7 separate regions of the Homo sapiens genome follow, and regions 2, 3, 4, 5, 6 and 7 are each linked to region 1. Evidence: promoter capture Hi-C in human tissues and cell types (Jung and others, 2019). All regions are on one chromosome and are shown on one strand. The core of a region is centred on a gene start or on the middle of the fragment in contact, and the rest is flanking DNA. Distances in the headings are between cores, read along the strand shown.

The links. Contacts are between HindIII fragments. The study calls those that stand out against the background at their distance.
Region 2: a fragment that was not itself captured here is called in contact with the fragment with the promoter of MRPL48 in region 1 in 2 of the 25 tissues and cell types used here (neural progenitor cells and thymus).
Region 3: a fragment that was not itself captured here is called in contact with the fragment with the promoter of MRPL48 in region 1 in 1 of the 25 tissues and cell types used here (dorsolateral prefrontal cortex).
Region 4: a contact is called between a fragment that was not itself captured here and the fragment with the promoter of MRPL48 in region 1, in 1 of the 25 tissues and cell types used here (lymphoblastoid cells).
Region 5: a fragment that was not itself captured here is called in contact with the fragment with the promoter of MRPL48 in region 1 in 1 of the 25 tissues and cell types used here (IMR-90 fibroblasts).
Region 6: a fragment that was not itself captured here is called in contact with the fragment with the promoter of MRPL48 in region 1 in 4 of the 25 tissues and cell types used here (bladder, heart left ventricle, mesendoderm cells and 1 more).
Region 7: a contact is called between a fragment that was not itself captured here and the fragment with the promoter of MRPL48 in region 1, in 1 of the 25 tissues and cell types used here (thymus).

Annotation. Positions count from the first base shown.
Region 1 is chr11:73,785,906-73,789,586 of GRCh38, forward strand. It overlaps MRPL48 (mitochondrial ribosomal protein L48), which reads left to right and starts at 1,969. Exons shown (of 8, transcript NM_016055.6): 1 at 1,969-2,087. The coding sequence starts at 2,067. RefSeq lists enhancers at 1,903-1,962, 2,103-2,182. The HindIII fragment of the contact is 15,089 bases long and covers 1-3,681 here.
Region 2 is chr11:73,312,771-73,316,451 of GRCh38, forward strand. The region is part of intron 1 of ARHGEF17 (Rho guanine nucleotide exchange factor 17); the gene reads left to right. Among named protein-coding and RNA genes, the nearest start is that of ARHGEF17-AS1, 5.2 kb to the left of the region's middle. RefSeq lists an enhancer at 1,580-1,759. The HindIII fragment of the contact is 4,461 bases long and covers 1-3,681 here.
Region 3 is chr11:74,173,012-74,176,692 of GRCh38, forward strand. The region is part of intron 1 of PPME1 (protein phosphatase methylesterase 1); the gene reads left to right. Among named protein-coding and RNA genes, the nearest start is that of PPME1, 3.6 kb to the left of the region's middle. The HindIII fragment of the contact is 4,752 bases long and covers 1-3,639 here.
Region 4 is chr11:73,411,291-73,414,971 of GRCh38, forward strand. FAM168A (family with sequence similarity 168 member A) reads right to left here. Exons shown (of 8, transcript NM_015159.3): 5 at 104-246. Among named protein-coding and RNA genes, the nearest start is that of RELT, 37 kb to the left of the region's middle. The HindIII fragment of the contact is 7,339 bases long and covers 1-3,681 here.
Region 5 is chr11:73,434,435-73,438,115 of GRCh38, forward strand. All of the region lies in intron 2 of FAM168A (family with sequence similarity 168 member A), which reads right to left. Among named protein-coding and RNA genes, the nearest start is that of RELT, 60 kb to the left of the region's middle. The HindIII fragment of the contact is 7,386 bases long and covers 1-3,681 here.
Region 6 is chr11:73,500,015-73,503,695 of GRCh38, forward strand. The region is part of intron 1 of FAM168A (family with sequence similarity 168 member A); the gene reads right to left. Among named protein-coding and RNA genes, the nearest start is that of FAM168A, 96 kb to the right of the region's middle. The HindIII fragment of the contact is 5,152 bases long and covers 1-3,681 here.
Region 7 is chr11:73,517,699-73,521,379 of GRCh38, forward strand. All of the region lies in intron 1 of FAM168A (family with sequence similarity 168 member A), which reads right to left. Among named protein-coding and RNA genes, the nearest start is that of FAM168A, 79 kb to the right of the region's middle. The HindIII fragment of the contact is 4,700 bases long and covers 1-3,681 here.

The DNA of each region.
Region 1 (3,681 bases), core at 719-3,218:
GGGATTAGATTTTTTTTTTTTTTTCGAGACAGAGTCTCGCTCTGTCGCCCAGGCTGGAGTGCAGTGGCCCGATCTCGGCTCAATGCAAGCTCTGCCTCCCGGGTTCACACCATTCTCCTGCCTCAGCCTCCCGAGTAGCTGGGACTACAGGCGCCCATCACCACGCCCGGCTAATTTTTTGTATTTTTAGTGGAGACGGGGTTTCACCGTGTTAGCCAGCATGGTCTCGATCTCCTGACCTCGTGATCTGCCCGCCTCGGCCTCCCAAAGTGCTGGGATTACAGGCGTGAGCCACTGCGCCCGGCCAAAAAAAAAATTCTAGTTGTTTTGGGAATCCTTATATCTTCGTACAAAGGACTAACCGTCTCCTTCTTCCTTCTTTTTCCCTTTCCCTTCACCTTACCTACCCCAGAGAGTGTATTAATGCAAAGATGGATTTGTATCTTTTTTTTTTTTTTTTTTTTGGGATGGAGTTTCGTTGTCGCCCAGGCTGGAGTGCAATGGCGCCGTCTCGGCTCACTGCAAGCTCTGCCTCCCGGATTCAGGCAATTCTCCTGCCTCAGGCTCCTGAGTAGCTGGGATTACAGGCATGCACCACTACGCCCAGCTAATTTTTGTATTTTTAGTAGAGACGGAGTTTCACAGTTTTGGTCAGGCTGGTCTCAAACTCCCGACCTTGTGATCCGCCTGCCTTGGCCTCCCAAAGTGCTGGGATTACAGGCATGAGCCACCGCACCCGGCCATGTATCTTATTAGATTGTATTTACCTGGACTAGACAAGGAAAGAAACTCTCTGGCTGCCAACCTGCCCTTTTGCAAACCTATAGTCACAGTCCCATAAAATAGATGAAGCACAGGCACGGAAATGAAACAGCTCACCACTTATATAACATTATGTTAACTAGGTACCTTCTTCCTGTCTCTGTTCCTCATCTGTGAAATGGGTATAATGATCCTCAGCCTCATAGGGTTATTGGAAAGACTAAATGAACCCATACACCCATAAAGAACCGACCTGGCACATACTAGCATTTGATTGATTTTTTTTTTCTTATTTAAAATTTCACTTCTAAAACCCCAATAGCATTTATTAGGCAATAATCAATCACTGTACTGGAGGAGGTATGCCTGGTCCATTATATTTCCAAGCATAATTAATTGTCGTATCTGTGTTACCTCAGTACTTTGCACACAATTCTGGTATTTCACTTACCATACTAGATACTAATTATTTGTTACTAGATACTAATTATTTTTTGCTATTATTTTGATTGAGTTCCTCAAGGACTGAGATCCTGACTAATTTATTCCAGCATCTAGCACAGGACGTGGAAATCTGACTTCTAAACTCAATTTAAGAGATGATTGGCTGGGCCTGGTGGCTCACGCTTGTAATCCCAGCACTTTAGGAGGCCGAGGCGGGCGGATCACCTGAGGTCGGGAGTTCAAGACCAGCCTGACAAACATGGAGAAACCTCATCTCTAGTAAAAATATAAAAATTAGGCGGGCGTGGTGGCGGGCACCTGTAATCCCAGCTACTTGGAGACAGAATTGCTTGAACCCGAGAGGCGGAGGTGGCAGTGAGCTGAGATCGTGCCACTACACTCCAGCCTGCGCAACAGAGCGAGACTCCGTCTCAAACAAACAAAAAAGTCAGATCTGTGCTAGACGCTGAAAGGAATTAATCAGACAGGATCTCAGTCTTTTAAGAACTTTCAAATACAGAGAAGAGGTGGTAACAAATCATTAGTGTATAATATTGTAAGCGAAAAATTAGAATTGTGTGCTAAGTACTGGGGTAACACAGAGATGGTAATTAATTCTTTCTGGAGAAACAGCAGTGAATGTGACAACCTGAGTGAGGGTGGAAAGCAGGAGAATTTCTAGACTCTGAATTTCAGAAGCTTCCGGAACTAAAATGATGTGGAAGTTGAGTGAGTCTCGGTGGGATATTGCTGCTGCACCTGGTCAAGGCCGTTCCTTCAGTGTTTTCAGACGCCCTGGGAACGCGGCTGCAGGGTCCGGTCTTCGGTTTGCACAGCTAGAGGCCGCGCAGCAGCAAAGGATGAGCGGAACCTTGGAAAAGGTAACGTAGATTCCACGCACGCGGGGCGCGGGGAGATGGCGGACGGTGCAGAGAGGGGAGATGGCGGAGGGTGCAGAGCGGGGAGGTGGCGGCGCGCGGACATCCGGGGATGAGACACTGGGGCGCCCAAGGTCCTTCCCAGCAGCACATGCGGCTGCCTGGCGTTGAAGGGGCTGAGCAGATTCCTTTCCACCCGGGGCGAACTCTGCCGAGCCGACCCGTGCCACGCCCACACCACATGCCACTCTCTCCACCCAGTTTCTGGAAAAGGGAGAGCTCTGCGATGGGAATCACGACACCAGGATACGGTCCCGATTAACTGTGTGACCTTGGGCAGGTCATTTTATATTTGCATTCAGTTATCAACTTCCAGAATTTTTTCTAAGAATGCAGTTTTGACTTGCTGAACTGATGAGGATGTGAAGCTACCTGGTAATAAGGAAACAGCAGTAATAAACTAGGTTTTTGTTCTTTTCTTTCTTTTTTTTTTTTTTTTTTTTTTGACGGATTTCGCTCTGTTGCCCAGGCTGGAGTGCAGTGGTGCGATCCCGGCTCACCACAACCTTCGCCTTCCGGGTTCAAGCGATTCTCCTGCCTCAGCCTCCTCAGTAGCTGGGACTACAGGCGCGGGACACCATGCCGGGCTAATTTTTGTATTTTTAGTAGAGACGGGGTTTCACTGTGTTGGCCAGGCTGGTCTCGAATTCCTGACCACGTGATCTGCCCGCCTCGGCCTCCCAAAGTGCCGGGATTACAGGCATGAGCCACCGCGCCCTGCAATAATTAACAACATTTTCGTTTCCAAAACCTTATTTAAGTGACTGTCATAAAACCGTATGAACCACTATAAATGTGTTCCTGGGCTTTCTCCCGTTCCCTTAACAGATTTAACAGATTTCATTTGTGCTCTTTCAATTGTATCATGCTGCTTAGATTAATGACTCATTTTAGCAATTTATATTAAAATTTTGTTTTAGGCATTAATTGTGGCAACTATATTTCCATGATTCATAGGTCAGCATGGTCGTTGCAGCTCATGGGTCTACCTGTGGTTACCTTGGGGCTGCCCTTGAATGTGTGAGGGCCCACGCCTCACTTCATCCTTTATGAAACAATTCACTTGTTCACCTTAGCCAGTTTGTAAGAATTTGGCCAAATATGGTGCCAAGATAATAGAAAAAAAAATCAGAAAGTTTCAAAATTCCATTGTTAAAGATGGTCACACTGGTGACTACACTCCTTGATTTGCCTTGGTTCCAAGAAGGGCTAAAAGGGAGGGATTATTTTTCAAGGAATACTATTTCCAACCATTCGGTTCTCCATGTTTCACCATATTGCTCAGGCTGGTCTGGAACTCCTGGAAAAGAGCCCATGGAAATCTGTCATTAAGGCCAGCATCTGACATGGGTATATAAGGCCTCTCGACGTCTGATGCCACTGTTCTCTTCCCGACTCCTTAGTTGCTTTAGTCAGCTAACCTCGTCATTATTTGCCAAATGTAAGTCTGTCTCAAAGTGTTAGTTAATACTTTACATTTATAAGGAAGGTCATGGGATTTGTCAGACAGTTCTGTCTCTTGTTATGACCTTGGGCA
Region 2 (3,681 bases), core at 523-3,022, 470 kb before region 1:
TTCCCCACTCTACCCCCTTCTTGGTGACTCTGAGATGCACCCCGTTTCTGCCAGACCCCCAGCCCTGGGGGCTCACTCTCCCTGAGACCCCTCCTTCTACCTTCTGGCTTCAGCTATCCCTGGAGTTTAGGCTGTGGATTCAGATGGGATCCAGATGGCATATGCCCTGGCATCTGGGTTGGGAGCTAGATTCCAGGCTGTGGATTCTGAGCTGAGCTCAGCGATGGCCAGTGGTTACTTCAACTGTGGCCTGCGCTCCCACTGCGCTCCCTGACTGTGTGAGAAGCCTGGAAATTATAAACCCTGGACTGATTCAGTCACTCCCTTTCCCAGCACTCTCATGGCCCCTCTGAACTCCCTTTCTCTTTGTTTCTCTCTCCTTGTCTCCAGTTACCCCTGGTCCTGGCTCTGGGGTTTCTCATGGAGGCTGCAGAGAGAGCAGGCAGGGAGTGGGGAGCGGGGCGTTTTGAACCTGTCCTTCCTTCTGAGTCCCAGTGAGGGCAGCTCCGGTGCCCCTGAACTCCAGTGCCAGTTCTGAAGGTGGGGGAGGGGAGGAAGACAGCAGGTCCAGTTCTTGTCAGGGGTCTCCTCCCCAGCCTCCTTTCCCATATATCTTTTCTGGGAGCCTTGAAGGCTCAAATGGGGGAGAGGACAGGAGTAAACCAAGGGACTCAGGGAGACTGAAGGTGGGTTGGGGGTGCTTCTAAGAGAAGGCTTTGAGACCCAGAGAGGAGGTGGGAGTTTACAGAACTTCTCCTGCCCCACCTCCCTTCACATTCTCCTCTACCCCCCACCCCTTTCTGGAGCTCTGAGGCGGGACAGATCTGCCATAACATGGGCTTCTCCCTGCCACGAACAGAGGCCTTCTCTGATCTCCAAGCTTTTGCCCACTCCAGGCCTCTCACTTTTCCAGGCCCAGCTTGATGTCCCCTTAGGGGGAGGTAACTGGTGAGTCTGTCATTAGAAGAGCAGGGTGTGAGCCTTGCTCTTCTGATCCCTGTGTGGCCTAGGATCCATCATATCCCTGCTCTGTGCCTCACTTCCCCCTTCCATAAAATGGGGGTAATGGCCTCTGCCTGGCAGGCTGTCTCTTGTGGTGAATGGGTGGTGTGATCATTTCCTCTCTGGTAGCAGGAAAGAAGAAAAATGGAGGCTGCACTGCCCAGCTGCTTCTCAGCCACCAGGCTTGGCTTGTGAACACAGGGCTGGGTCCTCGGGGGCCTCAGTATAACCTGGTGGACTGCAGTAGCCTCTGAGAACATCCATCATCCTCCAATTTCCCACACCCTCATAAAGCCTGGAAGTTCTCCCATCTGCTAGCTTGAACCCCTCCTGCTGTCCCCTTCCTTCTGGCTCCCAGAATATGGGGAGCAGCTGTCCACCCCCTCCTGGTGGCCTCTGTTGAGGAGACAATGTTCCCTTGTTTCAAGCCTGAGGCTCCAGTCATGCTCCCTGGGCCGTGGGTGGAGATGGCGTGGTATGGACTCCAGAATAAGCAGAGACGAGAGGAGCTGTCATTCTTTGCTTCTGGCAGTCCCTGGGGACTAAGGGGATGCCCCCCGCCCCCCAGGCTGTAGGGAGTCCTTCACCCTCAGGTCCACATTCGTGCTCTGTGTGGTGTTGCCCCCATTGCCGGGAAGTGGGAGGCCTGGGGCCAGGCCTGGCTCAGCCTTTGACTCACTCAGACCTGGACAGAGTCATCTTTGTCTCTCAGTTTTCCCATCTGTACAGTGGGAGGTTAGACTGCCTGGTCTGTGAGGCTCAGAAGGAGGGAGTCAGCCTGCAGGGGGTGTCAAGTGAAATGGGAGGAGCCAGCGGTGTGGCTGGAGGGGAGAGAAAGGCAGCTGTCTGCAATAGCTGCATGAACCCAGGAGAACAGGGAGTAACAGTAGCTCATGGGTCATTTATTCCAGGAATGCCTGTCTGTGTGCCGGGAGGTGAGGAGGCAGAGCTGTCAGGCCTCCCTGCCCCGCCCCTCCCACACTCTTGTTACCTCCACTGAGGCCCACTGTAGCCTGGTTGGTCAACAACTCTTCCTGTGAGGGAGAGCTTCCCCCGCCCCAGCCTCAAAGTGCAGAGTCTTGCAGTCCCACCTTCTGCCCTCAGGTCCCTGATACCCGTTTGACACATGCCACAACTGTAGCCCACAGCAGGGGGTGACTTGTCTCTCAGCATCATAGGCAGATGAACTCACGAAATTTTAACATACTGAAATAGCAGTAACAATGACGAACATTTATCAAGTGCTTGCTATGTGCCAGACACTATCTGTTTCATTCTTCAACTGTGAAAGCTGTGGATATCTTACAGTGCAGACTTAGAGTCGAAGACTGTTGGATTCACCCTGAATCCTAGCATATCAGTGTCTTAGAGGTGAGGGGTCCCAAGGAGATTGGCCTGCCATCTGAGTAGCGGGGACAAGTCAGCAGACAGTTGGGAGTGTCACCTCCACATCCCCAACAGCCTGAACACTTTCATAGTGGTTATTTAATTCACCAGGGCCTGGGGTTGGGATGGGAAGAACTTTGAGACCCAGAAAGGGAGAATGCTAGGTCTAAGGTCACACAGCAAGGGCGGGCAGAACCAGGCCCATGCACCAGGACCCTGGCCTTGTTCCTCTCCACTCAGACCCCCTCCCTACCCAGCCAGCTCCCTGCCTTGCTGATGAAGGTCTGGCAACAGCTCTTCTAGTCACCCTTCTTTCTCCCCTTTTGGCGGGGAACCTGCGGGGGTGGAGGTTCTCTCCTTCCCCTCCTTGGCTCTTTGTGTGATTTTTCCATGGAAACTGGTTCTGGGGGGAAAGGAGGAGGTGATTAGGACACTTGGAATTCTGAGCGGTACCAAATATCTATAATTAAATGTCTTGTCACCCAGCAGGAGGGGGTGAGATGAGGGAGGACAGGCAGAAGGGCAGCCCCTTTCCTCTGTTTATTCCTCACATCTCCTCCCAACTCCTTCCTAAGGGCCTGGGCTCTTGGGGGGAACACTGTCCAGGAATGAGTCCTCCCCAGCGAGGAAGGGTTGGGGGATGGACTAGAGTTGAGTCTGACATTTTCCAGCCCCACGTTTCTGGGACCAGCTGGGTTTGGGAGGCGGAGAGGCTGCTGCTAATCCTGTCCCCAGCCCCCTCTCCCCGTGTAGGGACTTACCCCTCCTGCTTCCCTCCCACCCTCCCATCTGTGATCTTTCAGGCTACACATTGCTGCCCCAAAGCAGGGTGGAGGCACCCCCAGGCTTCCTGGGAGCCGAGGCACACAGAGTGTAGGATCTAGAAGCCAACTCGAAGGGGCTTAGGATGTTGAGGGACTAGCCTGGAAACTGGCCGAGGGACTTCCTAGAAGAGGCTCTGCCTAAGCTTGAGCTTGAACACTGAGCAAGAGGGAGAGGCTCTATGAAGAGGGCACAGCATGAGCAGAGGCTAGGAGATGGAAAGAAATATGGCAGGTTGTGTGCAGTAAAAGTTTGTTTCAGAGACTCAGGTGGCCTTTGATAGGGTAATGCATTCATCCATTAAACAAATACTGTCTGAGCAATAAGACATGTCAGGCCTTCTAGGCCTGGGAATACAGCAGCAAACAAAACAAAAGCCTGTCCTTGTGGAGCTTCCAGACTAGGGAGGAGGCCTGTCTGTAAATGGAGATATTCTGTGTCAGGGAGTGGTAGGGTCCGAGAAAAAAATAA
Region 3 (3,681 bases), core at 14-2,513, 390 kb after region 1:
GGGAAGGAAACTAAGAATTGAGTGGAGACCTGCTATGATACGCAGTAGAAAAATGAGAAAACTTTAGCAGGAGGAGATAGAGAGATAGACGCACAATAGAGGTAGAAGGCTACATAGAAGGTAAAGTGAAGATTGTTTTGGCTTTGGAAGACAGAAAAGTTGGACTATAACATGAATAAAGAGAATTTGGAAACTGACCCATAACATTATTTGGGAAAACTAACCTGGAGTTTAATATTAATGTAACATTAATTGTTGTTAAATATCTTAGTTGCTGCCTTTCTTAAAATAAATTTGATTTTTCAGTATACCAGCACCCTTCTATACAAATACATAAGAAAATCAGATTTTTAATAATTATACATTCCTTAGATAAGCTTAATTAGAGCTCAGCTTCTCATCTTGGAGAAACAAGTTCTCTGAAGATTGAAGAACTGAATGAAGATACTGAGAGAAAAAAAAAGGAAAATCTGCTGATTAGAAGATTGTATAATTGTTAGTAATTTATCGTTTTTATTTTTTATTACTTTTCATTTTATTTTTTTTTAGAGACAGAGTCTCACTCTGTTGCCCAGGCTAGAGTGCAGTGGCACAATCTCGGCTCACTGCAACTTCCACCTCCCGGGCTCAAGTGATTCTTGTGCCTCAGCCTCCCAAGTAGCTGGGATTACAGGCATGCACCACCACGCCCGGCTAATTTTTGTATTTTTAGTAGAGAGGGGATTTCGCCATGTTGGCCAGGCTGGTCTTAAACTCCTGGCCTTAAGTGATCTGCCCCACTTGGCTTCCCAAAGTACTGGGATTATAGGAGTGAGCTACTGTGCCTGGACAACTTACCTTTTTAAAAAGATGCTTTGGTCTTCTTGGTTTAGGTTAACTGCTTATCCTGGAAAAGAAAGTTCTTTAGAAAGGCCTTTCTTTATGATAGTATTGTGAAGAGAAGAGCATATATTGGCGAATATTTGTGTGGTCCTCAAATGGCTTATTTTCCCGTATCTTTCTTTTCTACTTTATTGGTATATAAGCAGGCTTCATCTAAGTCTCATGGTAGTAATAATATAGATTCTCTTTCTCCTTAGAATCATAAAGCTGAGAGAAAGCATAGACATGGTCTCATTTCACCACTTCATGTAGTTGAGGAACCCAATATTCAGAGAGTTCTGTATTCTATAAGGGAATGTATTAATAAATGAGGGAACTGAGACTCAGATATTCCTAAGGTACCCTAGAAGCTTAGCGGTAGGGCCGTTAAGGACTAGGACTTGGGTCTCTTGACTGTGAGACCCATTGTGTATTTTGGAGTCATAATTGTCATCTGGGGATACTTATTTTGAGTTGTGTATCTTACTCATTTGCATATAATCTAGGATTCAGTCTTTTTCTTCAGTCGTAATTTATGAAGTCTCACACCAATTTCAAAGCATTCTTTATGTCTCCTTATGCTTACTTGCTTTTTTCTTAACTTCCATTCTTCCACTCTATCTATGTTACTCACAAGTTAGTCCTGTTCTCTTGATAGTCTCTTGTGTGGCTTACTCTTAACTATTTTTCATGATCTCTTGCCTTCAATTTCACTAAACATTATTTAGGCATGTTTGCATATTCAGGGTGCATATTCTGAGTTGGTGATTTTTCATGAGTTTCCATAATTCAGTTTTTCAGATTAGATTTAGTAATTCCAAAGTATTGTTGGATAATTTAATAATAGCAATTTTTAAAGTAAGTACTGTGTGCCAGACATTGTAATGGTAACTTTATGTTATTTAATGTGTCCACAGACCTGCATGGTGAATATTTTCCTGCATTGTGGGTAAAGACATTCAGACCCAGAGATTAAAAGTAACCCAACTAGTAGGTAGCAGAGCTAGGATTCAATCTAAGTTTAGTCTCTAGAATCCATTCACTTTTCAGTACACTAATATTTTCTCTTGGGTAAGGCCTGAAATCCTGGTGTCACTCTTCCTTTTAATAGATGCCAATGGATGTTGCCAAAAACAGTGGTTTTGAACTTCTTTATTAAAGCTTTTAGAGCTACTCTGACTAAAGTAGATTTGAGATCCCTATTTGCTTTGCACCCCTGGTGTGCTTGAGAGAAGTATCTTTTGAAAGTCACTGCTTTCGTATATACTATTACTATTAGAGGAACTATAAAATATTAAAGCCATTCATTATTCAACGTGTTTTTGGTTTATCAGTAGTTGTACTTTTTGGCCAGGTGTGGTGGCTCATGCCTGTAATCTCAGCACTTTGGGAGGCCGAGGCGGGTGGATCACCTGAGGTCGGGAGTTCAAGACCAGCCTGACCAACATAGAAAAACACCGTCTCTCCTAAAAATACAAAATTAGCTGGCGTGGTGGCACATGCCTGTAATCCCAGCTACTCAGGAGGCTGAGGCAGGAGAATCACTTGAACCTGGGAGGCGGAGGTTGTGGTGAGCCGAGATCGCGCCATTGCACTCCAGCCAGGGCAACAAGAGCGAAACTCCATCTCAAAAAAAAAAAAGTTCTACTTTTCTATTATTATCTCTTAAATTCCTTTTTTTTTCTTTTGCAAGAGATAGAGTCTTGCTGTGTTGCCCAGGCTGAAGTACAGTGGCTTTTCACAGGCATAATCTTGGTGCATTACAACCTCAAACTCGTGGGCTCAAGCAGTCTTCCCACTTCATCCTCTTGAGTAGGTAGGACTGAGGATACATGCTAGCATGCCCAGCTCTGTAGTGATTTAACTGACATGTATATAGTAGTCCCTTTTTATATTCTATGAGGTAAACTAGGGCAGGAGTTAATATTTTCTTTTAATAAATGAGAAAACTGAAATGTTCATTGACTTGCCTAAGATCACAGAATCATTATGTGGCAGGAACAACATTCAAACCCAGGACTTCGTATTTTTAGTCCATTGTTCTTTCTATAGCTTGCATTGAAGGGTTTGATATTTGAAGTGACAAAGATCTAAGTTTGAAGCCCAACTTAGGTATTTACATTGGTCGAGTCATTTAACTTCTCATAGTCTATTTTCTTATCTCTAAAATGAGAATACTTCTGCTTACCTGAGAGTGCTGTGAGAATAAGATAATACATAAAAAGCACTTATAGTTCCTGACACTGACACATAAGCTCTTAAAGAATGATAGCTAGTAGATAATTATACATTGAGAACTGTGAAGAAGGTTCATAGTTTATGTGGAAGCTCTCCTTTCAGTTTCTTATGTTATCAGCTTTTTTGTCCCCACAAGCTGTATGTTTATTCATATCTGATTAGATAGTCTTTCATCCATCTTCTTAAATTTATTATGGATATCAGGCCTCTTAGGAAGGCTTTAATGAGCTATTCACACAGATGGGGAAATAAAGGGCAAAGTGAAGTGATTTGCTCAAGGTCACAAATTGAGTTACTAAAATAATCAAATCCCAGTATTTCTGTTTTTTTTTTTATTTTTTCATTAGATTTTTAAAAAGTTAAATTTATATGCCATAGAATTCACTCTTTTAAATGTACAATTCAGTGATTTTTGGTATATTCACTCAGTTGTACAATTACCACCACTAATTGCAGAACATTTTCATCCTCCCATAAACTCGTTACTCATTAGCATCTTCCCTTCCTCCCAGCATGTATTGCTTCTGGATCTTGAGTCACAGAAAGGCTTTTCCTTTTTTTGGGTTATAAAGGAATCATTTA
Region 4 (3,681 bases), core at 371-2,870, 370 kb before region 1:
AACCATCCTCTCCTTCCCTCACTTCCTCACCCTACCCCACCACACTGCACCCAGGCTGAAGGCTCCTCTACCTGCAGAAGAGGTGGCTTTGACATGTACCTACCTGGGCATACAGATTCTGCTGGGGGTAGGCACTTCTGATTGGATACATGGCCGTCTGATAGGGGTTGGGTGATGGGGAGTAGGGGGGTGGAGCAGTGTTACTCTGGGTCGGTGGGACCTTGTATGGTGTCCCCGCAGTATATCCTGTACCAAGGCAATAAGAGAGACTTCCAGTTAGTTGGCAGAAAAGCATTGCTAGAAGGCAGCAGGTCCCAGTCACGACTCCCCAGACAAAGATGGGCTGAATCCAGGCTGGAAACAGAGATGAGAACAAACAGAGAACAGGGCTCCACCCAGAAAGCCCTGGCCCCAGAGGCAGCTCCCTCAGTCCTGGTGCACAGGGCTGCATGGATGATTCTGGGCATCTTTTCTTTCTCTGGGTCTCAGGGCTCTCATCTATAAAATAAGAGGCTAGAACCACATGGTCCCTTTTAGCTCTGACAGCCTGGGATTTGGAGCTGTCTGTGTGAAATGGGCAGGTGCACAGAGATGGAAACCCTCAACTCACTTGCTCTTTATTGCTACTCTACTTGCTTTTCTGTCTTCTCACACAGAATCCAGGGTATCTTTTTGCTGCTGTTTCTGTCTTTCTCTCTTTTGCTCTATTTCTTTTTCTCCTTATCTCTCTCTCTCTCACTCTCTTCTTGGACTTCCCTCCATCATGTTCCCTCCCCTCCCCACCAAGTTTGAAGGTGAAAACCCCATACAAAACACCATTCGGAGACCCTCATCTTCTGGGATGCTGACCATACAAAACACCATTCGGAGACCCTCATCTTCTGGGATGCTGACCATACAAAACACCATTCAGAGATCGTCATCTTCTAGGATGCTGAAAAACTTTGCTCTGCAGAGTTGGCTCCTCCTTCTCTCCTGGGCTCTAGGGGAAGGCCACCTCTGCCTGAAAATACCTGAAGTCAGGGATCACAAAGATTCACATCAACCTGGAACCTGGGCCATGTCTGTCCCTCAGCAGGATGGACAAAAGCTGGAGCTAAGAATGGGGCTGAGAAGTCAGGCCCCAAGAAGCTCACAATTGCCCATGTAAATAAACTGTGCTGCCTTTTAATCCTCCGGAAAAGAGTGACAGATCCTTTGTTCACAGAAAAAAACTTGAAACATGAGTCATTCAGGAACAACACTGTCTCCTTTTAGAATCACAAAATGGAATCGTTCTACGGAACCCAAGTGATCATCAAGGGACTCCAATCCTTGGACTTTACACAAGGGGATCCTGGGCTCAGAAAAGGCAAGTCTTTTTAATAACTTCTCCTAAAGACTCTAAACTCTTCTAAGTTGAAGGGACAGTGCCTGAGGACCTAGGCTTTGAAGCCCTGCTGGGGAGGTGCTGAGGTGGCTTCTTTCCTGTGGTTCCATCTTGGGTAAGTCTAGCAGACCTCACTGAACCTCTCTGGGCTTCAGCTCTTTCACCTATAAGATGCTCACCAAGGACCCTTTCAGCTCCGAGGTGCTGTTTCTATCATATAATAAGGGACTAGGGGCAGAGTGGAGGGAGTGCTTTATTGGAAGAGAAGACATCTAGTCTTCAGTCCTGGCTTTCCCCCTAATTTTTCATGACAATTGTCAAGTCTTTGGGCCTTAGTTTCTTATTTTGTAAAATCAGGTGGCTAAGAATGAAGATCTCTTCCTAAACAAAAATTCCATGGTTCTAAAGATCCTGGGTCTCTTCTACCTTAACCCCAAGTAAAAGCAAACTACCACATGGTCACAAATCTTTCTCAGTCCACATCACACCTCTTTGGCTTAGCACCCCCCTGCCCCTGATGACTCAGGAGGATAGGAGAGCTGCTGCACAGCTGCCACAAAAGTCAGCCTGTTCCTGGATTCACGTCATTTATTTTTTCACCTGCAGATCCATAGTTTTTTCCATAGTTTTGTGATCAAATATGCTTGGGAAATAAGTAACAATGAGGATAGAATGGAAAGTACATATGAAAGAGAGGGAAGCATGTTAAAGAGAAGTAGAAACTAACTGGAAGTGCAACTATGAGCTGAGTGAGAAGTCTAGAGCAGATTTCTCAAAGTTTCTAGATTATGGAGCTAATGATGAAATGTGGTCATAGGAGGAGAAGCAGATACTGTGGGGGAAGACAGGGAGACTAGCTTTGCAGATGTCTAGAAGGAACCATCTGATGTGTACGGAGACACAATTTACTTATCTATAAAATAAAGGGGTTTTATAGATAAACCAGAGATAGACATTTCCCAAATGTGGACAACGTACTATAGATCCCAAGGGATCTTAATAGTTGTTTTTGCCAAAGAAAAGGAAACAAAAGAGTTCTATAGTCCCATATGTAAAATAGAGATAAACAGTTAAGATTTTGTTTTTATTCCATGACCCTGAGAAGTTTTTAAAACAATAGGATGGGCTGGATGTGATGGCTCTCACCTATAATCCCAGCACTTTGGGAGGCCAAGGCAGGAGAAGCACTTGAGACCAGGAGTTTAACACCAGCCTGGGTAACACAGACAGACTACATCTCTAAAAAAAGAAAAAAACTTAGCCAGGCATGGTGGCTGGTGTAGTCCCCAGCTACTTGGGAGGCTGAGGCATGAGGATGGCTTGAGCCCAGGAGTCTAAGGCTGTTGTGAGCCATGATCACAACACTGTACTTCAGCCTGGGTGACAGAGCAGGACCCTGTCTCTTAAAGAAGGTGGGGAGGTGAACTGTGAATCTCTAAGATGGGAGTATGTACAAGACTGTATTTTCCAAATTAATTTTACCACAGAATCTTTTATTCATACTATAAACATTTAAAACAATTAAATTTCAGCCATGTTTTTTGTAATTGAAGCTAGTTTTGGTAAACAAAGTTATATTGTAACACATCCACATCCATTCATTTACATATTGACTAAGGCTACTTTCCTGCTACAATGGTAGTCACTGACAGAGAGCATATGGCCTTTTTAAAAGCCTAAATATTTGGCCCTTTACAGGAATGTTTGCTGACCCCTAATTTAAAGGAATATATCAAGGTGTAGAGAAACCTAGCAGAGCTGAAAGCATCCCTTTTCTATGCAGGAGAGTAGGACACCCCTGAATCAGAAGGTGCCTGTTTCTGAAAGCTCTGTAGCACAGAGCCATGGTTATGAGCAGTCTGGAGACAGACTGACTGCCTGGGTCCAAACCCCCAGCTCTGAGACTTAATAGCTATAGGATACATCAGTCTCGCGTGTGATATGGGAACAGTAATGGTACCTACTTCATTGTGATAAATACATTAACTGTTAAGTAAAAAGCACTTAGAACAGTACCTGACATATTAGAAGCACTTTATAAAGATCAGCTATTATTATTTTCTCTCTCACTTTATAGGGACAGTAAGCTTCTGTCCTAAGGGTATGCAGGCAGAGCCTGGTCTGAGAGACTAAAGCTAATCTATGACTACTATGGTCTGTCCCAGCTTGGAACACAGACTCCAGGATTCTAAGATTCTAAAATGTTATGGCTTAAAATGCCATGATTTTATGATTCTTTAAAGTTAACAGGCCAAAGATGCTGATGACTTTCCTTTATGCTCCTGGAGAATGTGCTCTGGAATTTTTCTCTT
Region 5 (3,681 bases), core at 391-2,890, 350 kb before region 1:
GAAGGTATTATTTTTGCAAAGGCTTAAAGGAAATGATAGTGTTAAGCAGATAGCTGAAGGAGTGTTTTAGACAAAACAGTCAGTGCAAAGGCCCTAAGGTGACAGCATATGGGACAATGTTGGAGGAACAGCAAAAAGGCCAGTGTGGCTGGAATGGAACAAATGAGGGGGCAGTAGTAGTAGAGTAAGTCAGAGAGGTAAAGGGCTGGCCAGTTCATGTAGGGCTTTACAGGCCACTGTGAGGACTTAGACTTCTATTCTGAGTGAAATGAGAAGACCTCATAGGGTTTTCAGCAGAAGAATAACATGCTTTGACTTATGTTTGAAAAGGGTCACTCTGATTGATGTGTTGAAAACAGACTATAAGCGGGTAGAGAAGCATAGCAATCAGCTGAGAGGCTACTGCAAGCTCCTGGCAATAGATGTGGGATTCAGGGAAATAGTGGAGGTTTGAAGAGACGTGACATCCCAAGAACCTTCACATACTTTGCCATACTGTTTTCTAGAAAGACCATCAATTTGTACTTGTTCTAGCAGTGTATAAGTGCCTGTCTCACTGCTTCCTGCAGTTGTTAAATGCTCACTGGTATTCTGACTGACAATGAAAAGCTGGTTTTAAAAGTCAAAGATTAAATCCCTAAATCCCTAAAAGCTTCTTTGGGATTTGTAAATACTGGAGCTTTAATAATGTATCTTTGTTAATATGCCTTTCCCTAAATCCTTTCCAATTCCAAAGAAAATTCATCTCTTTACCCCCTGATCATTTTCTGATTTTAGAACTGAGGTAGCTAACTTGTTGATTAATTAGCAATCTGGAGGTGTGCTACTTCTCAAGAAGAAAGTCAGGGGTCTAATCTGGGAAGCCAGGTGATCCAGTCTCATAGCCAAAATCTGTACTCAGCTTCATGTGAGAAATTGTGCAGCCACAGGTAATCACACTCCTGTTTTGTCATTTCAGATGTCTTTCACTTTAGGGGCAATTATAGGATGTTCCTTCAATGTTTCCAAGTGGAATTATTTTTAATTCACTTGAATTTGGCAGATATTATATAATGGCAGCATTACAGGGAGCTTTATTTGGTCCTCCCTCCCTCTCTTTCCTTCCTTTCTTACTTCTTTTCTTACCTTCCTTCCTTCCCTTCTTACTTTACTTATTTATTTATTTATTAATTACAGGATCTCAAGCATTGCCTGAGTCCAGGAGTTTTATAACTGTTAATACATTATGTCTGGTCAGGTATGGTGGCTCACACCTGTAATCTCAACACTCTGGGAGGCTGAAGTAGGAGGATTGCTTGAGCTCAGGATCTCTACAGTCTTGTGACACATGACTGTACACTGAGTTCTTGAAAAGACATACCGTCTCTATTTCACTCATTTCTCATACAAAAGATATTTTCGCATTTGCTTTTCATTTGAGCCTCAAATCAATCCTAATGTGATTTCTCCCATTTTATAGCTAATCAAATAGAGGTTGAGAGGTGAAGTAACTTTCTGGTTAAGATTATTCAGCAAGTCAGTGGTCGAATTGGGAAGGGAATCCCAAAAGCAATGCCTTTTCCACACCTACCAAATAATTATCACTTTGTCCTTAGAAACAAGCCTGCCCCTTTTGTATTTGTATTTTTTGAAGGTCAAGAGTGAAGAGAATAAATGGACACAAGTTAGCTTTTTTCCTTTATATCCTAAAGGCTGCAGTAGTGATCAGGTATTCTGGGATTTTGATGTGTACATTTTAATTGCTTTATAGATGTCAATACAATCTAAGCCTCTTTTCTTGTTGGTACTAGGATTAGGACTAAAGAAATGTAAAGCTATTTTTTGATTAATATGGAAATTAGAAATTACTTTCAACAGAAATCAGGGGACTATTTCTGAAAATACTTTACCTTTAGGAGCTTAAAATAGCAGAGTATCAAAAGGCCAGAGGAAGACAAACTCCCTGGCTCAGAAAGACAAAGAGGCTTACTTCTTTGTGAGCAGGAGAATACTTAGGCAATGAAGACATTTTAGGTCTGAAGCTCACAATTAAAAAGAAAACTGCCCTGCAAATGACCCCCTAGGGTGATCAAAACCAAAACAATGACCAAAAAAAAAATCTTTATTCTCTCAAGATAATAAAGAAGAGGGCAAGAGGAAGGATGTAATTTTGAATCTGTATTATGTTCTGGCCACTGTGCTAGGCACTTCTATATCTGATTTAATCTCTACCCAAAGTCAACAAAATATATTACTAGTTCCATTTTAGAGAGAGGATATTAAGACTTCTCTTACAGAGCTAATAAGTAGAGAGTGGAGACAGAACCCATTCCTACCAACCTCCCTGCCTCTCCTCAAAATGAGTCTACTCAGAGAAAATCTCTGGATTTGGCTGCCATTTACTTTGCCAAAATTCTTTTACTTTATCTTCAAAACCAAGGAAAAAAGGAAATTACTCTGGAGAGTCAATTTGGTCAAAGATGGCTGTGTTTAAGAAAAGAAATAAAACAACAACTACTGTTTCCACTCAGTGGAAAGGTCATGGTTGTGTTATTGAAAAGTATCACAGGCACTGAATTATAGAGTTGGAAGGGGTATTAGAGGTGATTGAGTCCAACTTGTCACTCAGCACAGGAATACCCTTTATAGTGGCACACATGACTGGCAGCATAGCCTCTGCCAGCATACTTTTTTTTTTTTTCCAAGACGGAGTCTTGCTCTGTCTCCAGGCTGCAGTGCAGTGGCGCTATCTCGGCTTACTGCAACCTCCGCCTCCTGGGTTCAAGCAATTCTCCTGCCTCAGCCTCCCAAGCAGCTGGGATTACAGGCACATGCCACCCCACCTGGCTAATTTTTGTATTCTTAGTAGAGATGGGGTTTCATCATGTTGGCCAAGCTGGTATTGAACTCTTGACCTCGTGATCCACCCACCTCGGCCTCCCAAAGTGCTGGGATTTACAGGTGTGAGCTACCACGCCCGGCCACTCTTTTTTTTTTTTTTTTTTTTTGAGACAGAGTCTCACTCTATCGCCCAATCTAAAGTGCAGTGGTGCGATCTCAACTCACTGTAACCTCTGCCTCCTCGGTTCAAGCAATTCTTCTGCCTCAGCCTCCCGCAGCATACTCTTCTAATGATGGTATGCTCAGAACCTCTTCAGTGAGTCAAAGCACCGACTGGAGAGCTCTGAAGTTAGAAAATTCTTCACTCTGAGCTAAAAATCTGACTTATTAAGAATCTTACCCTGAACATTTTTTCAGCCACTGGAGTGCAGAGGCTGAGGCAGGAGAACTGCTTGAACCCAAGACACAGAGGTTGCAGTGAGTCGAGATCGCACCATTGCACTCTAGTTCCTGGTCCTAGTTCTACCCTCACAGAACATGTCTGTTTCCTCTCCTCCTGGACAGCTTGCTAGAGATATGAAGATATCCATGATTCCTCCTGAATTTTCTTGTGTTCAAATCCAACAGACCCAGTTCCTTCAATCTTCCCTCATCCTGACTGCTCACCTGTGATCAGACTTCAATTTACAAATCCCCTTCCCTTAAAACAATTCAATTTTTCTTCTTGCCTCGTTGATTCCTCTGCTGATAGTTTTTCCCCAATTAAAAAAAGATAATTAAGCTGACATAACAAGACTATGGTGATTGTGGTCAGTGAAGGCCTAAAGTGACTGCATCCAGATTTCATCATCATCATCATCA
Region 6 (3,681 bases), core at 641-3,140, 290 kb before region 1:
ACAGAGAACACCATTAAGATATTCCACAAGAAGATCAACCCCAAGACACATCATCATCAGATTCTCCAAGGTCACAATGAAGGAAAAACTGTTAGGGCAGCCAGAGAGAAAGGCCAGGTCACCTACAAAGGGAAGCCCATCAGTCTAACAGTGGACCTCTCAGCAGAAACTCTTCAAGCCAGAAGAGATTGGGGGCCAATATTCAACATTCTTAAAGACAAGAGTTTACAACCCAGAATTCCTTTTTTTTTTTTTTTTTTTTGAGACAGAGTCTTGCTCTGTCACCCAGGCTAGAGTACAGTGGCATGATCCCAGCTCACTGCAACCTCTGCCTCCAGGGTTCAAGGGATTCTCCTGCCTCAGCCTCCCAAGTAACTGGGACTACAGGTGCCTACCAGCATGCCCAGCTAATTTTTGTATTTTTAGTAGAAGACAGGGTTTCACCATGTTATCCAGGCTGGTCTCGAACTCCTGACCACATGATCCACCCACCTTGGCCTCCCAAAGTGCTGGGATTACAGGCATGAGCCACTGCACCCAGCCTCAACCCAGAATTTCATATCCAGCCAAACTAAGCTTCATAAGCTAAGGAGAAATAAAATCCTTTCCAGACAAGCAAATGCTGAGGGATTTCATTACCACCAGGCCTGCCCTGCAAGAGCTGCTGAAAGAAGCACTAAATATGGAAAGGAAAAACCAGTACCAGCCACTGTAAAAACACACCAAAATATAAAGACAAATGACACTATGAAGAAACTGCATCAACTAGTATGCAAAATAACCAAACAGCATCATGATGACAGGATCAAATTCACACATAACAATATTAACCTTAAATGTAAATGGGCTAAATGCCCCAATTAAAAGACACAGACTGGCCAATTGGGTAAGGAGTCAAGACCCATTGGTGTGCTGTATTCAGGAGACCCATCTTATGTGCAAAGACACACACAGCCTCAAAATAAAGGGATGGAAGAAAATTTACCAAGCAAATGGAAAGCAAAAAAAAAAAAAGCAGGGGTTGCAATCCTAGTCTCTGACAAAACAGGCTTTAAACCAACAAAGATCAAAAAAGACAAAAAAGGGCATTACATAATGGCAAAGGGAACAATTCAACAGGAAGTGCTAACTATTCTGAATATATATGCATCCAATACAGGAGCACCCAAATTCATAAAACAAGTTCTTAGAGACCTACAAAGATACTTAGACTACCACACAATAATAGTGGGAGACTTTAACACCCCACTGTCAGTATCAGACAGATCAATGAGACAGAAAATTAACAAGGATATTCGGGACTTGAACTTAGCTCTGGATCAAGTGGACCTGGTAGACGTCTACAGAACTCTACCCTAAATCAACAGAATATACATTCCTCTCAGTGCCACATGGCACTTATTCTAAAATCAACCACTAATTGGAAGCAAAACACTTCTCAGCAAAAGCAAAAGAACTGAAATCATAACAAACAGTCTCTCAGACCACAATACAATCAAATAGAACTTAGGATTAAGAAACTCGCTCAAAACCACACAATTTCATGGAAATTGAACAACCTGCTCCTGAATGACTCCTGGGTAAATAATGAAATTAAGGCAGAATCAAGAAGTTCTTTGAAACCAATGAGAACAAAGAGACAACGTACCAGAATCTCTGGGACATAGCTAAAGCAGTATTAAGAGGGAAATTTACAGCACTAAATGCCCACATCAGAAAGCTAGAAAGATCTCAAATCGACACCCTAACATCACAATTAAAAGAGCTAGAGAGGCAACAGCAAACTAATCCAAAAGCTAGCAGAAGGCCGGGCGCGGTGGCTCAAGCCTGTAATCCCAGCACTTTGGGAGGCCAAGGCGGGCAGATCACAAGGTCAGGAGATCAAGACCATCCTGGCTAACACGGTGAAACCCCGCCTCTATTAAAAGTACAAAAAATTAGCCAGGTGTGGTGGCGGGCGCCTGTAGTCCCAGCTACTCAGGAGGCTGAGGCAGGAGAACGGCATGAACCCCGGAGGCGGAGCTTGCAGTGAGCTGAGATTGCACCACTGCACTCCAGCTTGGGCGACAGATCAAAGCTTTGTCTCGAAAAAAAAAAAAAAAAAGGCTAGCAGAAGACAAGAAATAACTAAGATCAGAGAAGAACTGCAGGAGCTAGAGACACAAAAAACCCTCAAAAAAAAAATCAACAAATCCAGGAGCTGGTTTTCTGAAAAAATTAACAAAATAGATAGACTGCTAGCTAGACTAATGAAGAGAGAAGAATCAAATAGACAAAATAAAAAATGACAAAGGGGATATCACCACTGATCCCACAGAAATACAAACTACCATCAGAGAGTACTATAAACACCTCTACACAAATAAACTAGAAAATCTAGAAGAAATGGATAAATTCCTGGACACATATACCCTCCCAAGACTAAACCAGGAAGAACTCAGATCCCTGAATAGACTGATAAGAAGTCTGAAATTGAGGCAGTAATTAATAGCCTATCAACCAAAAAAAGTCCAGGACCACACGGATTTACAGCCGAATTCTACCAGAAGTACAAAGAGGAGCTGGTACTGTTCCTCCTGAAACTATTCTAAACAACTGAAAAGGAGGGACTCATTTTATGAGGCCTCATTTTATGAAGCCATCATCATCCTGATACCAAAACTGGGAAGAGACACAACAAAAAAAAGAAAACTTCAGGCCAAATATCCCTGATGAACATCAATGCAAAAATCTTCAATAAAATACTGGCAAACTGAATCCAGCAGCACATCACAAAACTTATCCACCACGATCAAGTCGGTTTCATCCCTGGGATGCAAGGCTGGTTCAACATATGCAAATCAACAAACATAATCCATCACATAAACAGATCCAAAGACAAAAACCACATGATTATCTCAATAGATGCAGAAAAGGCCTTTGATAAAATTCAACATGGCTTCATGTTAAAAACTCTCAGTAAACTAGGTATTGATGGAACATATCTCAAAATAATAAGAACTATTTATGACAAACCCACAGCCAATATCATACTCAACAGGCAAAAGCTGGAAGCATTCCCTTTAAAAACCAGTACAGGACAAGGATGCCCTCTCTCACCACTCCTATTCAACATAGTATTGGAAGTTCTGGCCAGGGCAATCAGACAAGATAAAGAAATAAAGCATATTCAAATAGGAAGAGAGGAAGTCAAGTTGTCTCTGTTTGAAGACAACATGATTTTATATTTAGAAAACCCCATCATCTCAGCCCAAAAACTTCTTGAACTGATAAGCAACTTCAGCAAAGTCTCAGGATATAAAATCAATGTGCAAAAATCACAAGCATTCCTTTACACCAACAATAGGCAAGCAGAAAGCCAAATCATGAATTAACTCCCATTCACAATCACTACAAAGAGAATAAAATACCTAGGAATACAGCTAACAAGGGATGTAAAGGACCTCTTCAAGGATAGCTACAAACCACTGCTCAAGGAAATAAGAGAGGACACAAACAAATGGAAAAACATTCCATGCTCATGGATAGGAAGAATCAATATAATGAAAATGGCCACACTGTCAAAATAATTTATAGATTCAATGCTATTCCCAAACAATTCACTGACATTCTTCACAGAATTAGAAAAAAACTATTTTAAATTTCATATGGAATCAAAGAAGACCCTGGATAGCCAAGACA
Region 7 (3,681 bases), core at 641-3,140, 270 kb before region 1:
TATACTATACGACCTTGGCTCAGGAATACCAATTACTTTTTGAAATACCCAATATGACCTTCAGTGTTTTTTAACACGAAGGCAGATACTGTAGCTTTTTAACATAAAATAGGAAGCATTTGCCATTCATACAAGGGTCAATTACAGAAGCAGAAGATTTGAAACCAGTCCTTTCAGCGTTATGTCACAACTCAATAGCAAATGTCTATTCAAAAAAAAAGGAGTGGGGACTGTCAATGATTCCACTTACTGCCTTGCAGGCAGGAGCAAAGGCAATCTGGTTCACTACTGCATTCTCAGTGTCTAACACAGTGTCCAGGTCTTGACACATACTAGTACTTGTTGAAAGCCTGAAAGAATGAAGAAACTACATTTTTAAACAGGTTTTCTTTTTCTATCACTAGTAAGTGACAGAACCAAGCTCTGAACTCCTGACTTTTACACCGTAGTGGTGACTATCCAGGGATATTAGAGAGTAGTATATAGGCCTATAACCAGGCTGAATCAATCTCCCAGGGAAGATATGCAGTACCCAGCTAGGAATAATCTCTTGCAACAGATTGTATTTTCCAAAGATGGTCACAATAACATCTCTGCTATAGTTTGGAAATCTGACCTTCCAAACCTCATGTTGAAATTTGATCCCCTATCCTAAGTGAAATAAAAGAAATTTTAAAATATTAAAAAACATTAAAAATTAAAAATTAATTAAAAATTAAAATATTTTCATATTAAAATATTTTTTAAAAAGAAATCTGATCCCCAGTGTTGGAGGTGGGGCCTAGTGGGAGGTATGTAGGTCATGGAGGCAGATCCCTCATAAATAGATTAATGTGGGGAGGGGGCGTGGAATTGTGGTGGGGGAAAAGTTCTTGCTCTGTTTGTTCCCTCCAGTGCTGGCTCTTAAAACGAATTTGGGCCAGGTGCAGTGGCTCACACCTGTAATCCCAGTACTTTGGGAGGCTGAGGCGGGTGGATCACGAGGTCAGGAGTTCGAAACCAGCCTGGCCAACATGGTGAAACCCCATCTCTACTAAAAAATACAAAAATTAGCTGGGCGTGGTCGTGCGCACCTGTAGTCCCAGATACTCAGGAGGCTGAGGCAGGAGAATTGCTTGAACCCGGGAGGCAGAGGTTGCAGTGAGCCAAGATTGCGCCACTGCACTCCAGCCTGGGAGACAGAGTGAGACTGTCTCAAAAAAAATTGGCACCTCCCTCAACTTCCTCTCTCACCATGTAATTTCACTGGCTCCCCTTCCCCTTCTGCCATGAGTGGAAGCAGCCTGAAGCCCTCACCAGAAGCAGATGCTGATGCCATGCTTCCCACACAGCCTACAGGACCATGAGCCAAAGAAGCCCCTTTTCTTTATAAATTACAGTCTTAGGTATTCCTTTATAGCAACACAAATGGACTGAGACAATCTCCCATCCCACATGCTCTACCACAATGTGATCTTGCCACAACTCCATCAAGAGGTAGATACTATTTCTCCTCCCCTTGAATCTGGGTGGGTCTGATCTTATGAATACCATTAGAATGCAGCTTTTGCCTGGTTTTCATGGGATGCTTCCTAGGAAGGAACCATGAAAAAAAATGTAAGGGTCTCCTTCATTCATTCAGGCTTTCAACAAATATTTGTTATGAGTTCCTACCATGTGTCAGGCCCCAGACATTGTGTTAGGCACTGAGAATGCAATTATGCATTACTCAGCCACTGCCCCATCCTCAGAGTTTACACTCTAGAGGAGGAAAGAGATGAAGGACAAGTGGGACAGACTAATACATCCTATAATTACAACATGTAACAGAAGCTTATAAAGAAGCAAAAAGAGATTTGCTTGAGGATGGCAAGTCAAGAAAGGGCATTCCAAGGCAGTGACAATTAAACAAGCCATAACAGAGGAGTAGTTAGCCATGATGGAGAGAGGAACAGGCAAATATTTTAGGAAAAAGAACAGCATGAGCAAAGTCACTGAAGGAGAAAAAAGCTTGACAGGCTCTCAGAGGAGCTGAGAGATGATGAGGATAGCTGGAACACAGAGAACAAGGGAGAGAGCAGCACAAAGACCAGAGCATGTATGTGTGTGTGTGTGTGCGTGTGCGTTTGTGTGTGTATACATATATATATGTATATTTTTTTTTTCAAGAGATAGGGTCTCACTATGTTGCCCAGACTGGTCTCAAACTCCTGGGCTCAAGTAATTCTCCCACCTCAAACTCCTGAGTAGCTGAGACTACAGGTAGTGACTCTGCCCAGTACATAGATTTTTGAAGCAATATTGTTGGGTTAATCACAGGTCAAGAAGTGTAGCATATCAGATTCACCTCTTAAAATTATAATTTTATTATTATTATTATTATTTTGGAGGCAGAGTCTCACTCTGTCACCAGGCTGGAGTGCAGTGGCACAATCTCGGCTCACTGCAACCTCTGCCTCCCTGGTTCAAGCAATTCTCCTGCCTCAGCTTCCTAAGTAGCTGGGACTACAGGCGTGCACCACCATGCCCAGCTAATTTTTTTTTTTATTTTTAGTAGAGATGGGGTTTCACCATGTTGGCCAGGATGGTCTCGATCTCCTGACCTCGTGATCCACCCGCCTCAGCCTCCCAAAGTGCTGGGATTACAGGCGTGAGCCACCGCGCCTGGCCTAATTTTATTATTGTTTTAAAGCTAGCTTTATATAATTTCAGATATAAAACAAAATAACTCAAGTAATAAATGCTGGTACTGAATACTGTATAACTAGATGTAGTCACATAGAAAGCACATTATGCAAAAATGGGACTGTTTCCAAGACAAAGGAACATATGGTTTGAAGGCCTTCCTGTAATTAACCTCTTTAGAATTTCAGGGCACAGAAAGACAGGGCTGACTTTCTCATTGCCTCATTAATGGTGCATTACATAAATCACACCTGATTCGACCTAATTTTGTTAGCAGTCATCTCAAAATGTTTCACTGAAATTATAATCCTTGAATGAAAAGGATAATCAATGCTGTCACCAAAGGATGCCCTGTCTAAAATGAAACTCAGCCCCTTTATATATTCAGAACATCAATGAGGCTCCCTACATAACCTGTCCAATGGCTTTGTTCCTCTCTTATCAGGTGTCAAGCCATTCAAAAAAAAAAAAGATGTGGTTATATATTATTTTAAACCACTGTCAAACATCTGTTCAATCCCCCAAAGAAAATGGAAATAAGCAGCTAAAAAAAAAAACAGTACTGGTAACGGGTTCCAGGAAACCACCTCACAAGACCAGGGACCTTCCAACAAACACTACCTTAAAGTGTTTTGATCTAGAAAACTGTCTTTTACATTTGTTGAAACCAGTAGGTTCCAAGTGATAAATGAGCTGATAAAGTTTCATTGTGATAAAATAGTTTCAGGAAATATATGTGCTATCATTTTAATAAGACTGATTATAGCCTTATAATTTGACAGGATTGGTAGGTTGTTCTGCATGTGCGACCTAGCCTATGAATGTTGATTATCTCAGTAAGTGCCACAGTCCTTTCCAGTTAGCCCCATAAAAGAAATCTTTTGGCCCCCTCTCCAGGGAAGCCTGAATAACAGGACACACACCCTATACTACTATTGTGTGTACTATTGTTGCAACTGAAGGGACTGTTCCTCAGGGACAAGAGAGCTGAGACACAACCTACCCTACTACCCTACC